Regions from separate parts of the Homo sapiens genome. Here all the other regions are linked to region 2. Evidence: promoter capture Hi-C in 16 types of primary human blood cells and fetal thymus (Javierre and others, 2016). All regions are on one chromosome and are shown on one strand. The core of a region is centred on a gene start or on the middle of the fragment in contact, and the rest is flanking DNA. Distances in the headings are between cores, read along the strand shown. Region 1 has its middle 59 kb from the start of SNORD137. Region 2 holds the start of LURAP1L (leucine rich adaptor protein 1 like). Region 3 has its middle 130 kb from the start of SNORD137.

Evidence for each region. The method cuts DNA at HindIII sites, captures the fragments that hold promoters and counts their contacts. A CHiCAGO score of 5 or more calls a contact.
Region 1: a contact is called between a fragment that was not itself captured here and the fragment with the promoter of LURAP1L in region 2, in 1 of 17 cell types (megakaryocytes). The highest score is 8.5, in megakaryocytes.
Region 3: a contact is called between a fragment that was not itself captured here and the fragment with the promoter of LURAP1L in region 2, in 2 of 17 cell types (megakaryocytes and endothelial precursors). The highest score is 7.0, in megakaryocytes.

What each region holds. Positions count from the first base shown.
Region 1 is chr9:13,030,493-13,033,208 of GRCh38, reverse strand. It overlaps the pseudogene LOC100130801. Among named protein-coding and RNA genes, the nearest start is that of SNORD137, 59 kb to the right of the region's middle. The HindIII fragment of the contact is 1,824 bases long and covers 537-2,360 here.
Region 2 is chr9:12,773,760-12,776,459 of GRCh38, reverse strand. It overlaps LURAP1L (leucine rich adaptor protein 1 like), which reads right to left and starts at 1,440. Exons shown (of 2, transcript NM_203403.2): 1 at 433-1,440. The coding sequence starts at 744. The region is part of intron 2 of LURAP1L-AS1 (LURAP1L antisense RNA 1); the gene reads left to right. The HindIII fragment of the contact is 1,821 bases long and covers 1,272-2,700 here.
Region 3 is chr9:13,102,370-13,105,144 of GRCh38, reverse strand. No RefSeq gene overlaps it. Among named protein-coding and RNA genes, the nearest start is that of SNORD137, 130 kb to the right of the region's middle. The HindIII fragment of the contact is 3,526 bases long and covers 1-2,775 here.

The DNA.
Region 1 (2,716 bases), core at 199-2,698, 260 kb before region 2:
GTGGCTCATGACTGTAATCCCAGCACTTTGGGAGGCCGAGGTGGGCAGATCACGAGGTCAGGAGTTTGAGACCAGCCTGACCAGCCTCATGAAACCCTGTCTGGACTAAAAATACAAAAAATTAGCTGGGCATGGTGGCGCACGCCTGTGATCCCAGCTGCTCAGGAGGCTGAGGCAGGAGAATTGCTTGAACCCGGCAGGCAGAGGTTGCAGTGAGCCGAGACTGTGCCATTGCACTCCAGCCTGGGCGACAGAGTGAGACTCTATCTCAAAAATAAATGAATAAATATGAACAATCTCTGATAATTTTAGACTCAAAAACAGCAGGTAGTAGGAAGCTGGAAGAACACTTGTGTTCATACCCAGCCTCTAGGCCTCAGCGATCGCAGCGTTCAGGGAGAGCGGCAGCCTCCCTCCCTGAAGTCCCATGTGGAGATGGCCCTGCTCCAACAATGAGGCGCCGGAGCGGGAAAAAGGAACTCCTCTAATGACATAAAACAAGTGAAAATTTATATGATCAGATGAGCTAACAAGCTTGAAAAAAAAATGTGATCTTAATGAGCAGAGCATATTTGTTAACAATGATTGGGAAAATAAACCTGCTTTATGGCTATGTTCTCAAGGCGTTGCGACTCTTCACTAAATCATCCTTGTCTCATCTTGTGTTAGGTTGTTCACTTCCATTGCTCACACGTGCTCAGCCCACACAGTTGGTGTGTATAATGGGGTCATATACTACCGCTGAAAAAATTCAGAAAGTTCTGCTTCAGTTCTGCTTTTGCCAAATCACTGTGGCCTATACGTCAAGGAAGAGGGACCTAGGAAGCCCAGAGTTTTCCATTACTTTCCCTACCAAATCAAAACACAACCCAACGCCCATGCTTGTAAGCATATCGGCTTCCGGTTCAGCTTCTTTGGAAGATTCTTTTCACTTCCACTGACATTTGCAGGGAGAATTATATTAAACTGAAGCTAATAAGACCATGTGTTACTTCATATAAAATATAATTGTAAATACAATCCTTGGCAACTATTTATTTTACCTCCAGGTGTCTCGAGTGTTAAGCACCAAACTATCTTTATTTTCTTTATGAATTTATAGGAAAATGTCTTTATGGTCACAGTACCATTTTGAGAGAAAAGAAAAAAATCTTTCTTTAAAACAAACAAACAAACAATTCTTGTGGTCAATAATTGAAATTATTCTCTGCCTAAATTGCTCTATATTTACATGACCTAAAAAAAATTGGAACTTATGTAAACATGATGACAAAATTAAAATGTTATTTTCTGCCAGGCACGGTGGCTCATGCCTGTAATCCCAGCACTTTGGGAGGCTGAGGTGGGAGGATTGCCTGAGGTGAGGAGTTCAAGACCAGCCTGGCCAACATAGTGAAACCCTGACTCTAATAAAAATACAAAAATTAGCGGAGCGTGGTGGTGGGAACCTGTAATCCCAGCTACTTGGGAGGCTGAGGCAAGGAGACTGGCTTGAACCTGGGAGGCAGAGGTTGCAGTGAGCCGAGATTGCACCACTCCACTCCAGCCTGGGCAACAGTGTGAGACTCCAACTCAAAAAAAAAAAAAAGAGAGAGAGAAAACTGAGTCACAGAAAAGATAAGTAACTTTCACAGAGTCACACAGAGAGTAAGTCGTGGAGGCAGGACAGTCTTGTTTGGTACTTTTAACCTCAGTGATAACCTAATTGTCTCTACAATCTTCATCTCCCTTCAGCTTTGGCTGTCTGCAGAATGTGTCTTCCTGATTAACCCACCAGCTACTCAAACTTAACTTGTTCCAGATGGAACTGAGAATCTGTTCTGATTCACCTGCTGCCTCCACCCTTAACTTTGACTGCCTTCCCCCTCTTTCCATTCTGATATTTTGATAACAATATTATCATGCTTGATTTTTGTTTTTGTTTTTGTTTTTGTTTTGTTTTTTTTGAGACGGAGTATCTGTCGCCCAGGCTGGAGTGCAGCCTCCCGAGTAGCTGGGACTATAGGCGCCCACGACCACGCCCAGCTAATTTTTTTTTTTTTTTTTTTTTTTTTTTTAAGTAGAGATGGGCTTTCCACCGTGTTAGCCAGGATGGTCACGATCTCCTGACCTCGTGATCCGCCCGCCTCGGCCCTCCAAAGTGCTGGGATTACAGGCGTGAGCCTCCGCGCCCGGCCCATGCTTGACTTTTCTGTACCTGTGAGTGCTTGCTATAAACTTGGCCCTGCCTGTTGCCATATTCTAGCAGTGAAACAGCTTGAGTCTCTCCTCTTTCCTTTTCCCACTGTTGTCTCTTAGACACTGCTCCACTGTCTCCCTTCTCCAGTTAATTCTAAACTACACTGGTACCCAACAAAGCTTACAAAAATATACTGCTAATCTTCCCATGCCCTACTAAGAAAGCTTTAGTAGCTTCCTTATAAAATGAGTAATAAACTCCTAAAGTTTTCACTCTAGGCTATTCATATCATAACCAAAATTTTGTTTCAATCCTTATTGCCATTTCATCCGCTGTCCTTGCCTGTCCTCAGTTTGCTTGTTATAATGTTATTTACTTTTTTGTTGTTATTTCTGATTTATCACCTTAATACCAACCCACTGCTTCCAACTCAATATTTAGTATCTTTCCCATGTTCCAGATATCTGGCAATTTCTCTTGTTTGGCAAATTCTTCTTTAGTAATCTTTCATATCTTCCCTTGGCTGTTCATTTCCTT
Region 2 (2,700 bases), core at 191-2,690:
AAGTATTTTTGCAGTAAGTGCATTGGACTGAGCCACCTTTTGAACCTACCCGAAGTGTTAACAGCGCACAGCAGGCCTTAGATGGGTGCAATAACTGCAAACTCTCAACGGGCTGGTGCCTAAGAGGCTACGGGCTGGCAGCTAAATAGAGCCCGGCGCAGTGAGTCGCGTTGTCCGAAAGTACACAGAGTGGAGCCAGCCGACTGTGCTGTCTTTGCAAACCGTGACCGAGCAAAGTCCGCGGTAAACAAGCCTCGCAGCAGCTGCCTCCGGATGAGCGCCCCCTGCTCATTCCTCCACCCAGCATTTCCCACGCGCCCAGCGCTCCGCTCTGCAGCCCCTGCCGTCCTCTCTCCCAGCCCCATTCTCAGATCGCCCCATCTTTTGGCCCAGCCCAGGTCCCAGCCCCCGCGGCTGGCGCACCACACTCACCATCTCTTGCCTGAGGAGGTGAAGCTTGGTTTCTAGCCTCTCCAGGGCGCTAGAGTGGCTACCTCGTGGGGAGCCAGAGGTTGGGGAGGACGAAGAGGAGGACGACAAGGAGGGAGGGAAGCTGCAGTAGCTGCTGCTGCTACTGCAGCCGCCGCCGCCGCCGCCACCACCACCGCTCCCCCCGCAGGGGTCCCTGTCCCTTTCCCTGGGAACCGGCTCCTCCCCACGGAGAGAGCGCACTAGACTCTCGGGTACTTTGCGCCCCAGCTTCAGCTCGATGTCTCTGAGGTCTGGCAGCGGGCTGTCTTCCATGACTTTTCCGGAACGGCGATAATAGTAATAAAACGCAGCAGATGAAAGGCAGCCACGGCTTCGAAGGCTGCTGCGAAATCAGCAGACCTCTCCGGGGGCCAGGGTCTCTATCCTCCGCCGCTCCGGTGTACCGTCCTTTCCATAACCGCCTATGCGGTATCAGCCCTGAAATCCGCACAGGACGCGGGGGGTCGCAGCTGCAGTTCCCAGTCCGCTGCGACTCCTCCGACACTAAGATGATCAAGATCTCCTCATTCTCTCTCTTTTTGGCCACCTCACTGCAAAGTTGAGTTCACTGATATTGCAGACAGAGGGGGAATAAAGAGGGGGAAGTAGTGAAAGAAAAGAGAGGGAAATTAAATCTGTTTTAGCTTTACCAAGGGAAAATTTTCACATTATAAAACCGTCCGTTCACATCCCTGCGCCGCTCACTGACTGCCCATCTGGTACTACGCGACACAAAATAATGATGCAGCCAGAAACGATGTCCTGGGTCGTTTCATTTTCCAGCCATATGCCTCCAAGCTTTCGGGATATCCTGGGTTGTCAGAAATAATCTCTGGTCAGTGAAAGAGGAGTTCGGTCGTGTGCATGGACCCATAAAAAAGAGCTAGTTAGCTTAGCAGGAGTTTAACGGCTTCCTTGATGCAGCAAAAATGTCCTTCTTCCCATTTAGGCTGTTTGATCCAAGTCATTGTGTTCCTCTGAGCCTCGGAAACTTTAAACTCCGCTGGCAGGTGGACCAAACCAGGACCAACCCTTCTACCGTATATCACAGACAAGAAGAGCAACCGGAATTTTCCCAACCCTGTCGCTAGTAGCAGAGTTTCAAAGCCCTGCTTTAGTTAGGAATACCAGTTGATTTTTCAGTTTTCCTGACTAGCTACAACCTTTAAAACAGGTTTTAAAATGAGAGATAGAGGAATGACTTTATATTTGGTGTCTTCGTTTCCCATCTCTCTACCTTCCTCAAAGGAAAAACAAACAGAAAACCTCTCTTTAGAAGACTTTCCTAATAATTTTATTCTAATAAAAAGAGTGAAACAATTTCATCAAAAGTTCAATGGAAATGTACAATCAAAATTAATTATCCTACCAACTGTTACAGTATGCAAACAAAAGTGAAAAATTAAATAGCCAGAATAACTTACATGACTGCTGAGATAGCAGTGAAATTTTAAGAACAAGCAATTGCTGAGATACTTACTTTTATTTTAATTATGGAAGAAAAAATATTGGGAATAACTATTTAAAATGTTGTCTTCTTTGATAATTTATCTATAAATTAATTTATAGATTTTTTCAACTATACAAATTGTACAATTAATTGTATAGTTGAACAATTGTACAATTTATTAATTTGTACAATTGTACAATTCATTAATCTGAAATACTTCTACCAAGTAAGTTATTATGAGCTACATGGATTACAGATCTGAATCAGCATTGAGTTTGTGTCAAAAATGTTTAAGTAGAGGATACTAATTTCAATCCAGTAAACTACAATTTTTGATTTCCATTGAAATATTTCAAAGTATGTGCCCCTCTATTTCTGTGACATATAAGTATTTGTGTTCCTGGTCACTCCGAGGCTCCATTTCCAGAGACATCATTCAGGTTTTACACTTGTAGGAACATAGGTATATACATCTCAGAGTTTGTTTTTATCATATCTGACTCTAGGAAACCTTATACGTAGAGGAAACATACGCATTCTAAATGAAATATTTCATGTCAGGGAAAAAATGCTGAACTTTCTATCAACATGCCAGAAATTTGCATGCTATTTCTCCCTTTTAAAAAGAAATGAAGAAAATAGTTATAAGTTAGATGACCCATTTCAAAGTTAGAACTACCACTTACAGAATCAAGGGAAAACAAGACCAAATCCCAGCTAACTGATAAAACTACATGCTTGGTCCTAAATTTGGAAAAACACAAGCTCGTTGCATAAGA
Region 3 (2,775 bases), core at 113-2,612, 330 kb before region 2:
TTAGTTACACAAAACGAATAGAAGAAACTGCATATTGTAACAACTCAAAGTTGTTAACCAATCATTGTAAATTTAGGCGCTCAATGTAACAAAACTCATTTTAGTATCCCAGTGACACATCTACCTTCTTAGCCATCATTTAGTGGCTCTCCATAACGAAAGATGCCATTATTTCATGGTAGGCTGCTGGAAGATGAACTAACCTCACATCTGAGTTTGAGCTAGCAAAGAATTTTTATAGAGGATGCTCCATACCAGACTGTATGGGAGAAAGCCACCCAACCCCTTCAAGTTTCATAATGTCTAAGTGCCCCCAACAAGAACAGCCCAGTTTAAATAGTGTCTTCCCATGATTCATGTCCATCTGGAACCTCAGAACGTGACCTTTGGAAATGGGGTCTTTGCAGATGTAATGAGTTAAGTTCATGCTGATTTAGGGTGTTCTCTATCCTAGGACTGGTTTCTGTGTAAGTAGGTATTGTGAAGGCACAGACATAGGGAAGAAGGCCCCATGAAGATGGAGGCAAAACAAAACAAAACAAACAAGCCAAGGAATACCTAGGGGGCCCTCAAAAGCTGGAAGAGACAAGGAATGTTTTTTCCCTAGGGCCTTCAGAAAGAAGTTGGCCTTATTGACACCTTGATTTCAGGCTTCTGCCCTCTATACTGTGAGAAAATAAATCTCTGTTGTTTTAAGCCACAGTTTGTGGTACTTTGTTTAAGCACTGGGAAACTGTTAGAGTATCTTAAATGTTGGTTGCACGTGGTGGCTCATGCCTGTAATTCCAGCACTTTGAGAGGCCGAGGTGAGCTGATCTCTTGAGCTCAGGATTTTGAGACCAGCCTGAGCAACATGGTAAAACCCCGTCGCTACAGAAAGTACAAAAAACAAAAAAAAACAACTAGCCAGACAGCTACTCGGGAGGCTGAGGCAGGAGAATCACTTGAGTCTGGGAGGCAGCGGTTGCAGTGAGCCAAGATCGCACCATTGCACTCCAGTGGGCAATGGGAGTAAAACCTTGTCTCAAAAAAAAAAAAAAGTTTGTGTCCTGAGCTACTGTCATTATGTCTGGCTAACAGGAGAAACTCTGTGAGTAGCTATTAATTAACAAAGACAAAGCACATTAAAGAGAAAATGGAAGGAGGGAGGGAGGAAGGAAAGTAAAGTTTGAGAGGAAAAGAATATAGATTCATAAGTCCTGGGGATAAGTAATGAAGCCTTATGCTTGCTATATTTTTTCTTTCTGGAAATATAGTAGTTGTCTGTGGTGAAAGAAGAAAGAAGAAAGTACTTGAACAAAGAGTTTAAATAAAGACTTGACTATTACAATGTTAATGCCAACATACTACCCAAAACAGTGGATTGCCCATAATAGGTTCCATAAATATAATTACGTTTGATTAAATCAAACTGGAAATACCACAGATTTCTGGTATTCTTCATACCACTCCAAAAGGATAATAACAGTAATAAAGTATTTCATATATACACACACACACACACACACACACACACACACACACACACACACACACACATATATTAGCAGCAGGAATAGCAAGGTAATGTAGCCAATCAGTAAAATTCATATATCAGAACAGTGATGGAGTTAGAAGCATAAAAAAATTAAAATTCGTTAAAGATAAGACAAAGGGGCCGGGCACAGTGGCTCACACCTGTAATCTCAGCACTTTGGGAGGCTGAGGCAGGCAGATCATGAGGTCAGGAGATCAAGACCATCCCGGCTAACAGTGAAACCCTGTCTCTACTAAAAATGCAAAAAAATTAGCCGGGCATGGTAGCGGGCGCCTGTAGTCCCAGCTACTTGGGAGGCTGAGGCAGGAGAATGGTGTGAACCCGGGAGGTGGAGCTTGCCGTGAGCCGAGATCACGCCACTGTGCTCCAGCCTGGGTGACAGAGTGAGACTCCGTCGCGAAAAAAAAAAAAAGATAAAGGAGGAGAGGGTTTTTTTTTTCCATTTTATGAATCTTGACAAAGCAGATTCTGATAGATAGGAAGAAGCAAAAGGAGCTCTTCCCTGCTCTGAGGTATATGATACTAAACTGCCTTAGATTTGCTCAGCTAGTTTATTGTCTGAGAATGCCGTACAATGATTTGGTGCCCCTCTTGAGATCCCAGGGTGAATAGAGAAGTTGAAAGGATGTGTTCAGGGAGACAAGTAATAAATAGGCTTTTTTTTTTTTGGTCTAGGTGTGGGAATGTCAAAACTATCATCACTTGCTTTCAGCAGCCCTGGTGTGTTGTTTCATGTCAGTGACAGATATTCTGGAATGCATTTGATTTGTGCAAAGATGTTTCTCAACTTTGACTACTAGGAATTAATGTTTAACTTTGTCCTTTTCTAAAGAGAGTTATTTGTAAGGCAGGATTGGCCTTCAATACCTTAAGAGGCAAAAAATTGGTGTCAAGAAAAGTTCTAACTAAGAGCATGAAAACTGGGGAAAGCAAATGTTCTTAAGGTGATTTTTATATGCTTGGCATTGAATTTTCCTTTTCCTCAAAATACAAGTATTCCATATTCATTTCAGTGTAATTTAGAACAAAAATGGTATTATCTGTGTAAGAATTGTTATTGTCAGTCAAGTACTGAAAGTTCAATAATAGGCCCTTAAAAGGCATTATGTCAAGCAGGAGGCAAATGTATGGTAAGGATCTCAGAATTGCTTCACTGGAGTTGTTATTTGAAATTTCCAAAAGGATAACACCATCAAAACACTGCCTTAGGCTGCTTCTAGGAGGAAACTTCAACTTAT